2 separate regions of the Homo sapiens genome follow, and region 2 is linked to region 1. Evidence: promoter capture Hi-C in human tissues and cell types (Jung and others, 2019). All regions are on one chromosome and are shown on one strand. Each heading gives the region's core, a stretch centred on a gene start or on the middle of the fragment in contact. The rest is flanking DNA. Distances are from core to core; before and after follow the strand shown. Region 1 holds the start of COQ5 (coenzyme Q5, methyltransferase). Region 2 overlaps HNF1A (HNF1 homeobox A).

Region 1 (7,673 bases), core at 4,074-6,573:
CGCGAGGCAGGGGAGAGGGCTGGCTGTCTCGGTGTCGGGGACTAGTGTCTCCGACACAGCAACGGATACTCGCCCCTGGGCCGAGGCCGACCTGCTCCGGGAATGGCGACGAGTCGCCAAACAGCATCTCAAAGAACCCGGATGGACTGTATATATAGTGGAGAGGGGGTGAGGTATTCTGGGAAATGTAGTTTTTGCCTACATCCGGGTCTCGTGGTTTGTTTTTTGGTTTTTGTTTGTTTGTTTGTTTTGGTTTTGTTTTTTTTATTTCCTCCCCCACCTCCGCCCCAACCCCACTGTGAGGGCATTCAAAATAATGGGACTTGCAGTTGCTCCAAGTCCAGGTTTTTCACTTAGTACACTAAAAATACAGTAACAATAATAATATACACTGATAATAATGTAGCCAAACATTGGAATACCTGTGGAACTCCTTTATAGACTCGTTTGATTTATGGTTCTTTTTTTTTTTTTTTGAGGCGGAGTCGCTCTGTCGCCCAGGCTAGAGTGCAGTGGCGCGATCTGGGCTGACTGCAAGCTCCGCCTCCCGGGTTCACGCCATTCTCCTGCCTCAGCCTCCCGAGTAGCTGGGACCACAGGCGCCCGCCACCACGCCCGGCTAATTTTCTGTATTTTTAGTAGAGACACGGTTTCACCGTGTTAGCCAGGATGGTCTTGATCTCCTGACCTCGTGATCTGCCCACCTCGGCCTCCCAAAGTGCTGGGATTACAGACGTGAGCCACCGCGCCCGGCCAATTTATGGTTCTTATTCTAGCGTTAATACCAATTGATTTATGGCCTTTAGTCTATCTCATATTAGGAATAATAATAATAACGTTAATAATGACAATACCTTACATTTAATATCACTTTACGGCACTTCTTCATACAGTACATCACTTTATTTCTTTAGCCTGGCGTGGCGGTGCGCACCTGTGGTCCCCATTACCCAGGAGACAGAGGCGGAAACAGGCCATAAGCAGTGTTTCATGCGTGTAATCCCAACACTTTGGGAGGCAGAGGTGGAAGGATCCTTGGAGGCCAGGAGTTCCAGACCAGCCTGGGGAATATAGCGAGACCCCTGTCTCTAAAGAATAAAAATATTTTTTAAAAAATTAGTTGGGCAGCCGGGCGTGGTGGCTCACACCTGTAATTCCAGCCCTTTGGGAGTCTGAGGAGGGGGCAGATCACTTGAGGCCAGGAGTTCAAGACCAGCCTGGCCAACATAGCAAAATCCCGACCCTATTAAAAATACAAAAATTAGCTGGGCTCTGAATAAAATAGTTTGAATAAAACTAACTTTAATTTAAAAGAGAGAAAGAAAAAAAAATTAGCCAAGCATAGTGGCTGTGGCTGCACACCTGTAGTTCTAGCTACTCAGGAAACTGAGGTGGGAGGATCACCTGAGCCCAGCAGTTGGAGGTTGCAGTGAGATACGATCGTGCCAGTGCACTCCAGTATGAGTGACAGAGAGGGAGACCCTGTCTAAACTTTTTTTTAAAAAGTAGAAACAGAGAACAAAAAGCAGATTAGTCATTTCAAAATTACTTTTCTTGTAAAGGTTTAAGCAGAATGGACTTCCTTATGTGGGGTAAAACTGACCAGTTTGGGGATTTGATGATTTCTCAGAAGGTCAGATAAACAATTTCGTTTAGGCGTGGTTGGGTAGAAATTCACCTTGAGTAACTCTGTTTTGGTTTGGTCTACTGTGCTGAAGCTCAGTGCAAAACAATGGGCTCCTATAAATTGTATTTAACAGCTGTTAACATTATCACATTTAATCTTCTCAATAACTAAATTTTAGACTAAGTGTGCCTGTAGTCCCAGCTACTCAGGAGGCTGAGGAGGGATGATCACTTGAGCCCAAGAGTATGAATCCAGCCTGGGTAACACAACAAGACTCTGTCCCTAAATAAATAAAATTTAAAGATGAGTAAATGGACTCCAAAAGTCCAGATAATTTGCCTATTATCACATAGCTAACAAGTGATGTTCTTACCTATGAGACAAGCAGTTCCTCATTTTACAGATACAGACTGAGATTTAGAAAATCATGCATATGGGGCCGGGCACGGTGGCTCACACCTGTAACCCCAGCACTTTGGGAGGCCAAGCCGGGTGGATCAACAGGTCAGGAGATCGAGACCAGCCTGACCAACATAGTGAAACCCCGTCTCTACTAAAAATACAAAAAAATTAGCCAGGCGTGGTGGTGCGCACCTGTAATCTCAGCTACTGAGGAGGCTGAGGCAGGAGAATCACTTGAACCCAGAAGGCACAGGTTGCAGTGAGCCAAGACTGCACCACTGTATTCCAGCCTGGGCAACAGAGCGAGACTCCATCTCAAAAAAAAAAAGAAGAAAGAAAATAATGTATGTGGGTCAGGTGCAATGTAATCCCAGCACTTTTTGGGAGGCCTGTAATCCCAGCACTTTTTGGGAGGCCTGTAATCCCAGCACTTTTTGGGAGTTCGAGGCGGGCAGATCACGAGGTCAGGATTTCGAGACCAGCCTGACCAATACAGTGAAACCCCGTCTCTCCTAAAAATACAACAATTAGCCGGGCGTGGTGGCGCACACCTGTAGTCCCAGCTACTTGGGAGGTTGAGGGAGGACAATCGCTTGAACCTGGGAGGCGGAGGTTGCAGTGAGCTGAGATTGGGCCACTGCACTCCAGCCTGGGTGACAGAGCGAGACTCTGTCTCAAAAAAAAAAAAAAAGAAAAAAAAAGGAAAATCATGTATGTGGCCAGGCAAGGTAGCTCAATCCCAACATTCTGGGAGGCTGAGGCAGGAAGATCACTTGATGTTAGGAGTTTGAGACCAGCCTGAACATAGTGAAACCAATTCTCTACTAAAAATTAAAAAACAAAAAACAAAAACATATGGTTTACAGATATAGACGCTAAGACTTTGGGAATCATACCACACCTATTTGTACTTTGGAAAATTACAAATGATTCCCTTCCAACCATAGTAGTTTGAGATTCAAAAGATCACATAGACATGCTATTAAGGAAATGACCAGGGCCAGGTGCGGTTGCTCACGCCTATAATCCCAGCACTTTGGGAGATTGAGGTAGGCAGATTGCCCAAGCCCAGGAGTTCAAGACCATTCAGGGCAACATGGCAAAACCCTGTCTCAACAAAAAATGCAAAAATCAGCCCAGTGTGGTGGTGCACACCTGTAGTCCCAGCTACTCAGGAGGTTGAGGTGGGAGGATGGCTTGAGCCTGGGAGGGTGAGAAGTGAGCTATGATTGTGCCACTGCACTCCACCCTGGGTGACAAAGTGAGATCCTATTTCAAAATAAAGAATGAATCAATAAATAAGTAAATAAGACCAGCCTAGCCAAAATGGTGAAACCCCATCTCTACTAAAAATACAAAAATTAGCGCCGGGAGTGGTGGCTCAGCACTTTGGGAGGCTGAGGCAGGTGGATTACCTGAAGTCAGGAGTTCAAGACCAGCCTGGCCAATATAGCGAAACCCCATCTCTACTAAAAATACAAAAATTAGCCTGGCATGGTGGCGCATGCCTGTAATCCCAGCTACTAGGGAAGCTGAGGCAGGAGGATCACTTGAACCCAGAAGACAGAGGTTGCAGTGAGCCGAAGTCATGCCACTGCACTCCAGTCTGGGCAACAGAGCAAGACGCTACCTCAAAAAAAAAATACCTTCCAACAGTCCTTGTCCTACTTCACTTTTTACAGGTTTTCCTCCACATATCATATGAAATAAGAGAACAGTGAAATACTGTTGGTCTGGATACTTAATCTGATGTGCAGAAGGAACAGCCCTAAATCCTGAGATCCATTCTTTTATATAACTAGATATGGAAGATATAAGATTCTTTGATGAGACTTTATTTATTTATTTATTTATTTATTTATTTATTTTTGAGATGGAGTCTGGCTCTGTCACCCAGGCTTGAGTGCAGTGGTGCAATCTCAGCTCACTGCAACCAGTGACTCCTGGGTTGAAGGGATTCTCCTGCTTCAACCTCCTGAATAGCTGGGACTACAGGTGTGCACCACCATGCCTGGCTGATTTTTGTATTTTAGTAGAGACGGGGTTTCACCATGTTAGCCATGCTGGTCTCGAACTCCTGACCTCATGCAATCCGCCCACCTCGGGCTCCCAAAGTGTTGGGATTACAGGCGTGAGCCACCGCACCCAGCCACTTAATTTCTTTTAACAAAGACATGAGAATTATGAATACATGGATGAATCATTTCGCCCTTGTATCCTTCCTTTTTTTTTTCTCATCACTATACCAACGAGGACCTTCTATCATTCTTAAAATAAAAGAGAAAGAAACAGAAATCCCAGCGCAGTACTTCCCAAACGAAAGCGGTTAGGTGTCCATCTGTCAGGCTATATTAAACCAGGAAGAGAATTTTCATTTCAAAACAGTTTCTTCTATTGGCGCTTTCTCCTCGTGAAATATTTACAGGAAACATACATTTAAAATGGAATGAAAGCAGAAACATACAGTAATCCAAGCAAAACTCAACAACGTCCGTTCTTTATTTTGCACAAGACGGTCTGCATTACCCTTGCCATTAAAAAAAGACTGAAAATCTGGGGCTGAAGTAAAACACCCATGACATGCCACCTGGAGCTAGGAATGTAGCTTTGTGTCAGCAGGAGACCAAGTGTGAGTGGTGGTTCTGGCTTGCTAAGTGGATACCAGAGCTTTCGTTCCCATTTATGAGCTTCCTAGGTTCATAAAACGGACAGAACAAAGAAGTCTGTCCTATGTTTATTTTTCAGAGTAGTGTAACATATGTTTCTCAAGAATGGTCTGCATCTTTAGCATCAGAATCGCCAGAGAAATTTGTTTAAATAGAGATTAAAGGGATATAGGTCAGATCAAAATCTCTGGTAGTTGGGGACCCAGGAATCTTCATTTTAAAACGTAAACCAAGTGATTCTTACGCTCAACAAAGTGTGCAGGAATTGGCCCGTGATCTTGGCTTTTTAACCACACCATGCCTCAATTTCCCCCTTCTGCACAAGACAACAAGAGTTCCTGGATATCTTGCGAGTTAGTACTTTTCTGCCTAGCCGGATTCAGAGACATGGCCGCTAAGAGGTGACCCGGGGCTCCCCTGAGATCCCCTGATTCCTGGTGAATTGTAAATTCAATTTGAGAAGAGAGAGAGGAAGGGATTTCCGATACTTAGAGACCACCCTTTGGATCCTAGAGATAATGCCGGCACAACTGTGTATCAGATTTCAGGGCGCGTTCGGCTAATAATGTTGCCGGCCAGCCGCCGTCGTTCGTGGAGTGACGCAACAAGGCGTACTCTCTGGCCGTTGTCACTCGACTACCAAGATGGCGGCCCCCGGGAGCTGTGCTCTATGGAGCTATTGCGGCCGTGGGTGGTCGCGGGCGATGCGGGGCTGCCAGCTCCTCGGGCTTCGTAGCTCTTGGCCCGGGGACCTACTAAGTGCTCGGCTCTTGTCCCAAGAGAAGCGGGCAGCGGAAACGCACTTTGGGTTTGAGACTGTGTCGGAAGAGGAGAAGGGGGGCAAAGGTGAAAGGGGCGAGAGGGCGGATGGGAGGGATCTGACCGTCCATGGTCTGGTTTCTTCTGGCCAGTTAGGGTTGATTTAACATCCAATTAGTTCCAGTGTTGTTGTCTGTGCAGTTATGATTTTTTTTTTTTTTGGAGACAGAATTTCGCTCTTGTTGCCCACACTGGAGTGCAATGGTCCGATCTTGGCTCACTGCAACCTCCGCCTCCCGGGTTCAAGCGATTCTCCTGCCTCAGCTTCCCGAGTAGCTGGGATTACAGGCGCCCGCCAGCACGCCCGGCTAACTTTTTTGTATTCTTACTAGAGATGGGGTTTCACCAGGCTGGTCTCGAACTCCTGACCTCAGGTGATTCGCCTGCCTCGGCCTCCCAAAGTGCTGGGATTACAGGCGTGAGCCACCGCGCCCAGCCAGACGCCCCCTTTTTAAAAGCAGAATACTGATGACTAAATCCCATCAACTGAGCGTTTGTGATGTGCCAGGCAACGTACAGACATTATTTTCAATTCTCATTTTCAACATTCCAGTAGTGGGTATTGTTATTACCATATTACACGTGAGGAAATTGAGACTTAAAGGTTAAGCAAGAAGTTGCCCAGTTGAACATATCAGTAAGTGGCGGAACCAGTATTCAAACCCAGTTTAATCTGAGTCTGAAGCCCCCGTTCTTTACCTCTAGAGAAAAATAGGGGTTTTTTTGGTTGTTTTTATTTATTTATTTATTTATTTATTTATTTTGAGACGGAGTTTCGCTCTTGTTGCCCAGGCTGGAGTGCAATGGCGCAATATGGGCTCACTGCAACCTCAGCCTCCTAGGTTCAAGCGATCCTCCTGCCTCAGCCTCCTGAGTAGCTGGGATTACAGGCATCTGCCACTGTGCCCTGCTAATTTTTGTATTTTCAGTAGAGACGGGGTTTCTTTTTTTTTTTTTTTTTTTTTTTTTTTTTTTTTTGAGACTGAGTCTCTCTCTGTCACCCCCAGGCTGGAAGGCAGTGGCGCGATCTCGGCTCACTGCAAGCTCCGCCTCCTGGCTTCACGCCATTCTCCTGCCTCAGCCTCCCGAGTAGCTGGGACTACAGGGGCCCGCCACCATGCCCGGCTAATTTTTTGTATTTTTTTTTTAGTACAGACAGGGTTTCACCATGTTAGCCAGGATGGTCTGGATCTCCTGACCTCGTGATCCACCTGCCTCGGCCTCCCAAAGTGCTGGGATTACAGGCATGAGCCACCACACCGGCCAATGTATAATCAACATTTTACAATGTATAATCAATGTATAATCAACATTTCACACAGTGGCAAGCAAGGAAGAAGTTAACTACTGAACTAAATATGAATTCCAGATTGGGGACTGAGATTGCAGTACAGACAGTCCTCGCTGTGCACAGTAATGCAAGACTGTGAAAATGTGCAAGCTGAAGTCATACACAATGACCTTAATCAATGGGAAAAATTAGAATTGTTTTATGACCTTTAAAAATTATCAACCATCAAAAACCCTGTCAGTTATAAATGTATAGTGAAATGAAAAAATATATACTGAAGTTGATATTTATTTACAGCCAGGTGCGATGGTTCACACCTGTAATCCCAGCACTTTGGGAGGCCGAGGTAGGCACTTGAAGTCAGGAGTTCGAGACCAGCCTGGCCAACGTGGTGAAACCTCATCTCTACTAAAAATACAAAAAAAATTAGCCAAGCATGGTGACGCACGCCTGTAATCACAGCTAATTAGGAGGCTGAGGCAGGCAAATTTCTTGAACCTGGGAGGTGGACGTTGCAGTGATCTGAGATTGTGCCACTGCACTCTAGCCTGGGCGACACAGTGAGACTGTCTCAAAAACAAAGAAAAAAAATTCTAATAAAAAATTAGAAACCTTGAGAATTAAATTCTTTTATTTCCTTGTAAAAAAATTGCCAAGAGTAGGCTGGGCGCAGTGGCTCACGCCTGTAATCCCAGCACTTTGAGAGGCCGAGGCGGGTGGATCATGAGGTCAGGAGATTGAGACCATCCTGGCTAACACGGTGAAACTCCGTCTCTACTAAAAATACAAAAAAATTAGCCGGGCATGGTGGCGGGCGCCTGTAGTCCCAGCTACTCCGGAGGCTGAGGCAGGAGAATGGCATGAACCC
Region 2 (5,530 bases), core at 3,031-5,530, 470 kb before region 1:
TTCTCCTCTTCTGTCTTGGTGGGTTCCCTGGAATAGCCAAGCAGACTCCAGTCAGGACCAGGCCAAGGCAGTGGCCCTGTCAGGCAGCTGGAGAAATCATGAGCTCAGCGGGAGGGAAAGCCCTCTTGGCGGCAGCTTTGGATGTTTACTGCTTTTGAGCACCTGTCTTGGGCCAGACACCTCACTTGATCATAGTTGCCTCCTGGGACATCCCTGGGAGGCCTGGACTCTGTTAAGATCCCCGTTTTAGAGATGATACAGTCAGAGAGGTTAAGTCACTTAAGGAGGTCACAAGGCTGCTACGCCCAGAAGCCAGTATTGGAAGCCAGGTTGGCCTCACTCCCAAGCCTGAACTCACTACCTGCCTCTCTCTGCGGCCACCTTCTGGTGACCTGGACCAAGGGAGGACAGCGAGAGGCAGCTCTGGGGCTGTGTCCTGACTCCAGCTAACCCAGGGTACCCTCTCGTTGCAGCAGTGAGGACAGTGACGAGGAGTGGCGGCGGTGCCGGGAGGCAGCTGTGTCGGCGTCCGACATCCTACAGGAGTCAGCCATCCACAGCCCTGGAACAGTGGAGAAGGAGGCAAAGAAGAAAAGGAAGTTGAAAAAGAAAGCCAAGAAGGTGGCCAGTGTCGACTCGGCTGTCGCTGCCACCACCCCCACCAGCATGGCCACAGTCCAGAAGCAGAAGTCAGGTGAGCTCAACGGGGACCAGGTGTCGCTTGGGACCAAAAAGAAGAAAAAGGCAAAGAAGGCCAGCGAGACCTCTCCATTCCCACCAGCAAAGAGTGCTACAGCTATACCTGCAAACTGAACCCAGCCATGGGCACAGGGCTCAGCCAGCTCCAAGGACAAGGTGTCCCCCCCACCCTGGGGACAAGGCATTTCCAAGCCCCACCTCCCTCTCCAAGTTCAAGGACTGGGCTGGCAAACCCAGACTGCCCATGAGACCCTGATGGTGATGAAGGCTTGCTCGAGAGTTGGGCCAAAAAAGTGGCTGTAGGGTGAGAAGACCAATCAAGGCCTGCCCCTCTGTGCTCCCACGGAGGGCTGGCGGGGGCGCTGTGGTTCCAGAACATTTCATGACCTCAGGAAAAAAGGAACCTTCCAGTTATTTGAGACTAGTGGCCAAGTGGTGAAACCTCCATCTCCCTAGAACTGTCTGAGGTGGGCAGGGGAAGGGAGACCTTCCCCACCACCTCCTTAGCCTGGTGTGAGAAACAGTTTTTAGAAAATGAGAGAAGGGATCCCCAAGAGGCCAAGGCCCAGAGAAACTTTTGTTCTTCTCTCCTTAGCCCACATAGACTTCACAGAATCGTCTGAGAAAGGAGAGCTTTTTCACCCCTGGCTTTCTAGAATTTTCTTTGTCTGCATTTGTGAATATACCACACATGATGGTGTCTCTGAGCCGACCAGATTATGGAAACTCAATTGTCAGAGGACCCAAAACAAAACTTAGAGTGATTTGGATATTGCCTCTCTGTCAATGCTGAACCTTAAGACATTTTAAGTAAACATCCTCCTCCTCTCTACACCCCCAGGATTTGTGCGTTCACCCCACCCAAGACTTCAGGAAGTGTCATAGCACTCGTGGACTAGGTTTCATGGGACAAAGGCATTCTGCAAGAAGTAGAAGCTTGTGGCCGGGTGCAGTGGCTCATGCCTGTAATCCAAGCATTTTGAGAGGCCAAGGAGGTGGATCAATTGAGGCCAGGAGTTTGAGACCAGCCTGGCCAACATGGCGAGACCCCATCTCTACTAAAAATACAAAAATTAGCTGAGCATGTTGACACACGCCCGTAATCCCAGCTACTCAGGAGGCTGAGGTGGGAGAATCGCTTGAACCCAGGAGGTGCAGGTTGCAGTGAGCCGAGATTGCGCCACTGCACTCTAGCCTAAGCAATGGAGCAAGACCCTATCTCAAAAAAAAAAAAAGAAAAAGAAAAAGAAAAGAAGTAGAAGCTCATGGCCAGGGATGGTGGCTCACACCTGTAATCCCAGCACTTTGGGAGGCCGAGGCAGGTGGATCACTTGAGCCGAGTTCCAGACCAGCCTAGGCAACATGGTGAAACCTCGTCTCTATAAAAAAAAGAATACAAAAATTAGTTGGGCATGGTAGTGAGCGCCTGTGAGGCTGCTTGTGAGGCTGAGGTGGGAGGATCCCTTTAGTCCAGGAGTTCAAGGCTGCAGTGAGCTGTATAATGCCACTGCAGTCCAGCCTGGGTGACAGTGAGACCCTGTCTCCAAAACAAAATTTTTTTAAAAAGTAGAAGCTTGAGGTTAAGATGAAATCTGGCTTTGTCATTAGAGTCTCAGCAGAGCAAGAAAAGCAGAGATGTGGGGTGTGAGAGCGTGGGTGCTGGAGCCTGTCTCCTCTTCGCAGGCCTCTGGCCTGCCCCAGCCTCCCGCTACCTGCCCAAACCCCATCTGAATGATTTGTGGACAAGCAAGAAGTTTCCACCGCATTTCTCCTTGACTTTACTAAAAGTTAAATAAACGTGCCACTCGCCCCGGCTGGCTACAAGCTGCAGGGGGTGCCGGGTCACCCCAGGCCTTTTCCTGAATCCCAGGGTAGACGCGGTACACTGAAGGCCAGGTTCTCAGCAGCAGGCCCAGGGATGTGGGACCATGCTTGTCCTGGGTTCACAGGCTCCTTTGTCCCTCCTGGCAGTGCTCAGGACCTCAGACTCCTCAGGGTGGCTGCGAACTGCCCTCAGCCAGCCAGGCCCCCAGGCTTCTGAGTGTTAGTCCTGTCCACACAGGTAGCTCCTGTGCCCTGGGGTCACCTCTTTCTTCTCCTGGGCACCTCAGCTTGGCCAGTTCCCCGGCCCTGCTCAGCTGCTCGGGCCTTGCTGCCTTGTGAGCTCAGCTACTCCTGCCCCAAACAAGGGCAGGGTCTGCAGGGCGCTCGAGACAGAGGAGCTGCCCCACCAGGACCTGGACTTGGCACGGGTTGCGAGGCTCCCACAGGAGTAAGGACGACTTCCCAGCCCCGAAGTAGCCTTCCCAGTAGAGGCAGGAGGCCAGGCTGGCCTCAGAGGCATGATGCTCTTGGGAACAAATACAGGAAAGCTGGAGGTCATGGGGCCTGGGAGAGGGAATCGCTGGGGATGGGAAGCCAGGAGAGCCCTGCCTGCCTTCCCTGTTAGCTTCGGCCTCCCTGGGCTCAGGCGTTAGAGCCCCAGGCTCTGGCACAGAGTAGCCACCCAGGAAATGCCTGTGTGAGTAGGTGATGGGGTCAGTACAAATGGCATGTGGGTCACTAGCTGGAAGGAGTTGGGGCAGGAAGGAGTGGCCCGGTGGGTACATTGGTGACAGAACAAGGCCACGCTGATCCAGGGCCTCTCAGAGCTCAGCAGGTCACAGCTACACAGGCCTGTGTCCTGAGAAGTGTGGCTGCCAGAGTGGTGTAGCGGTCCCAGGGCTCTCCATAGGCCCAGGCTGGGGGTGCCCAAGTCATAGGCCGCCCCCTTCAGTTCCAAGTAAGAAGACTGTATCCCACGAAGCAGCGACAGTCCCTCCTACATCTGCCATGAACAGGCTTTGCTCCTAGCTCTCCACGACCCCCTCCTGTGCACCCCGAGCAGCCTCCACGGGTTGGGGCGCCTCAGAGCCCTCCCTTTCTGATGCATCAGAGCAGAGTGGGGAGCGAGGCACAGCTGTCCAGGAAGGGCCACGGTTGCTCGGCAGGCTCAGGTCCTCCAGGCAGGGCTGGCTGCTGCCCTCATCACCCCCCAAGCAGGCAGTACAGGCCCCAGGGCCCAGGTGCCGTGGTTACTGGGAGGAAGAGGCCATCTGGGTGGAGATGAAGGTCTCGATGACGCTGTGGTTGGATGGCAGCAGGTGGCTCTGGCCATTGCTGGAGTCTGAGCTCTGGTACAGCACCAGGCTGCTGGAGGACACTGCAGAGGCAAACAAGGCTGCTAGCCACCCACCAGGCACCCACACCCACCCCACCTGCCTGTCCCTAGGGGTACTCAGGATGGGGAGGCAGGGCCACACCTCCTGGATCACAGCAGATAACAGGAACCCCAAAGTCACACCTCTACCCTCGGTTCTTCAAAGGGAGCCTCCCAGCCAGGGTCCACGGCCGCCCATGGAGTGGCCTGAGTACATCTTAGTGTGAACACTGGAGAAGCCCCGGTGAGATGCCGAGGTAGGTAGTTGTACGTGTTGGCTTGGCTAGGCTGAGTCAAACACTAATCTAGGCGCTGCTGTGAATGCAGGTGCTTTGTAGATGTGGTTAATGCCACAATCAGTTGGCTTTGAGTGAAGGAGATTACCCTGAAAATATGGGTGGGCCTCCTACATCAGTGGAAGGCCGTAAGAGCAAAAACCGGTTTCCCAGAGAAGGAATTCTGCCTCAAGGCTGCAGAATTCACTCCCCAGAGCTGCCAGCAACAGATTTCAGGCCTGCCAGCCCCCCGCAGACACGGGCCAAGTCCTTCAAATAAATCTGTTGGTTCTGTGTTCCTGGAGAACCCTGACTGATGGCAATGGTTAAGAGAATGGGCTTTGAGGTGGGACCTGGGTTCGAGTCCTGGCCCTGCCATCTGGTAGCTGTGGGAGATGAGGCAAGTCCCTCCCCTCCTTGAGTGTCCACTTTCTCATCTGTAAAATGGGGGTGGTCATGGACACGCCTCATGGGGTGAATGCCAGGACACAGAATGGCCTCAGTGGCTGTCATGACAGCTGCCAGGGCCGGGTCCAGGAACCTTATAGAAAGGGGGCAGCTTGCAAAAAGGCAGGCTGCAAAGCCCACCCACCTGACTCCAAAGTGCCCACTCCTGACAATGGCATCATAGATTACAAACTCAGGTGACCGCCCCACCGCCAGGGGTCATTGGAGCCGATGTGAGTGGATGCAGTGAGGCCTGGTGCACTGTTATATGGGAATATGAATTTTTCCAATTTTCCAAAAGATGCCAGAAATCTGGATTTCTATGTGAAAATTCCTGATTTTGAAATGTTGGCAACAAATTCAAAGAATGTTCAACCCTGAGCCAAGCCAAACCAAACACATGCAAGAGTCGCTTCTGGCTCACAGACCTGGTCCTTATCGTTACTCTCCACTGCCTCTAACAATTACTTCATCATTTTCCTCAGTCCAGTCCCTGAGATGTTCTTGTAAGGTGGGCCCCATCTTCCTGGGGTCGCCTGTGCCTCTTGGGCTTCATGGAAGCCCACCCCACCCCTCCACGCCTGCCAGTGCTTCCTCACAGCAGCCCTAGGCCTGCTGCATGCACAGCCCCACAGTGACGGACAGCAACAGAAGGGGTGGGACCAACATGGAAGGGGGCAGGGACAGTAAGGGAGGGGGTGGAGCCAGGGCCTCTCACCTGTGGGGCTGGCGCTGAGCCGGTGGGCCGGCTGCAGGTGCTGGATGCTGGCAGGGTCCTGGCTGGGGACGTGGAGGGTGGTGGCCTGAGATGCCGGCGTGTGAAGCCCGGACTCACTGGAGGCCTCAGTGTCTGAGGTGAAGACCTGGGGGAGCAGAGCAGCCTCCTGAGCCCGGGGGATGTGGGGGTGAG

The links. The method cuts DNA at HindIII sites, captures the fragments that hold promoters and counts their contacts. A contact is called where the count stands out against the background at its distance.
Region 2: a fragment that was not itself captured here is called in contact with the fragment with the promoter of COQ5 in region 1 in 1 of the 25 tissues and cell types used here (dorsolateral prefrontal cortex).

The regions. Positions count from the first base shown.
Region 1 is chr12:120,526,808-120,534,480 of GRCh38, reverse strand. It overlaps COQ5 (coenzyme Q5, methyltransferase), which reads left to right and starts at 5,323. Exons shown (of 7, transcript NM_032314.4): 1 at 5,323-5,541. The coding sequence starts at 5,340. RNF10 (ring finger protein 10) reads right to left here and starts at 125. Exons shown (of 17, transcript NM_014868.5): 1 at 1-125. RefSeq lists a silencer at 74-227 and enhancers at 4,987-5,446, 4,793-5,562, 5,563-6,333. The HindIII fragment of the contact is 25,598 bases long and covers 1-7,673 here.
Region 2 is chr12:120,999,436-121,004,965 of GRCh38, reverse strand. It overlaps HNF1A (HNF1 homeobox A), which reads right to left. Exons shown (of 10, transcript NM_000545.8): 9 at 5,339-5,483; 10 at 2,454-3,901. The coding sequence ends at 3,774. C12orf43 (chromosome 12 open reading frame 43) reads left to right here. Exons shown (of 6, transcript NM_022895.3): 6 at 477-4,480. The coding sequence ends at 813. Among named protein-coding and RNA genes, the nearest start is that of C12orf43, 14 kb to the left of the region's middle. The HindIII fragment of the contact is 9,568 bases long and covers 1-5,530 here.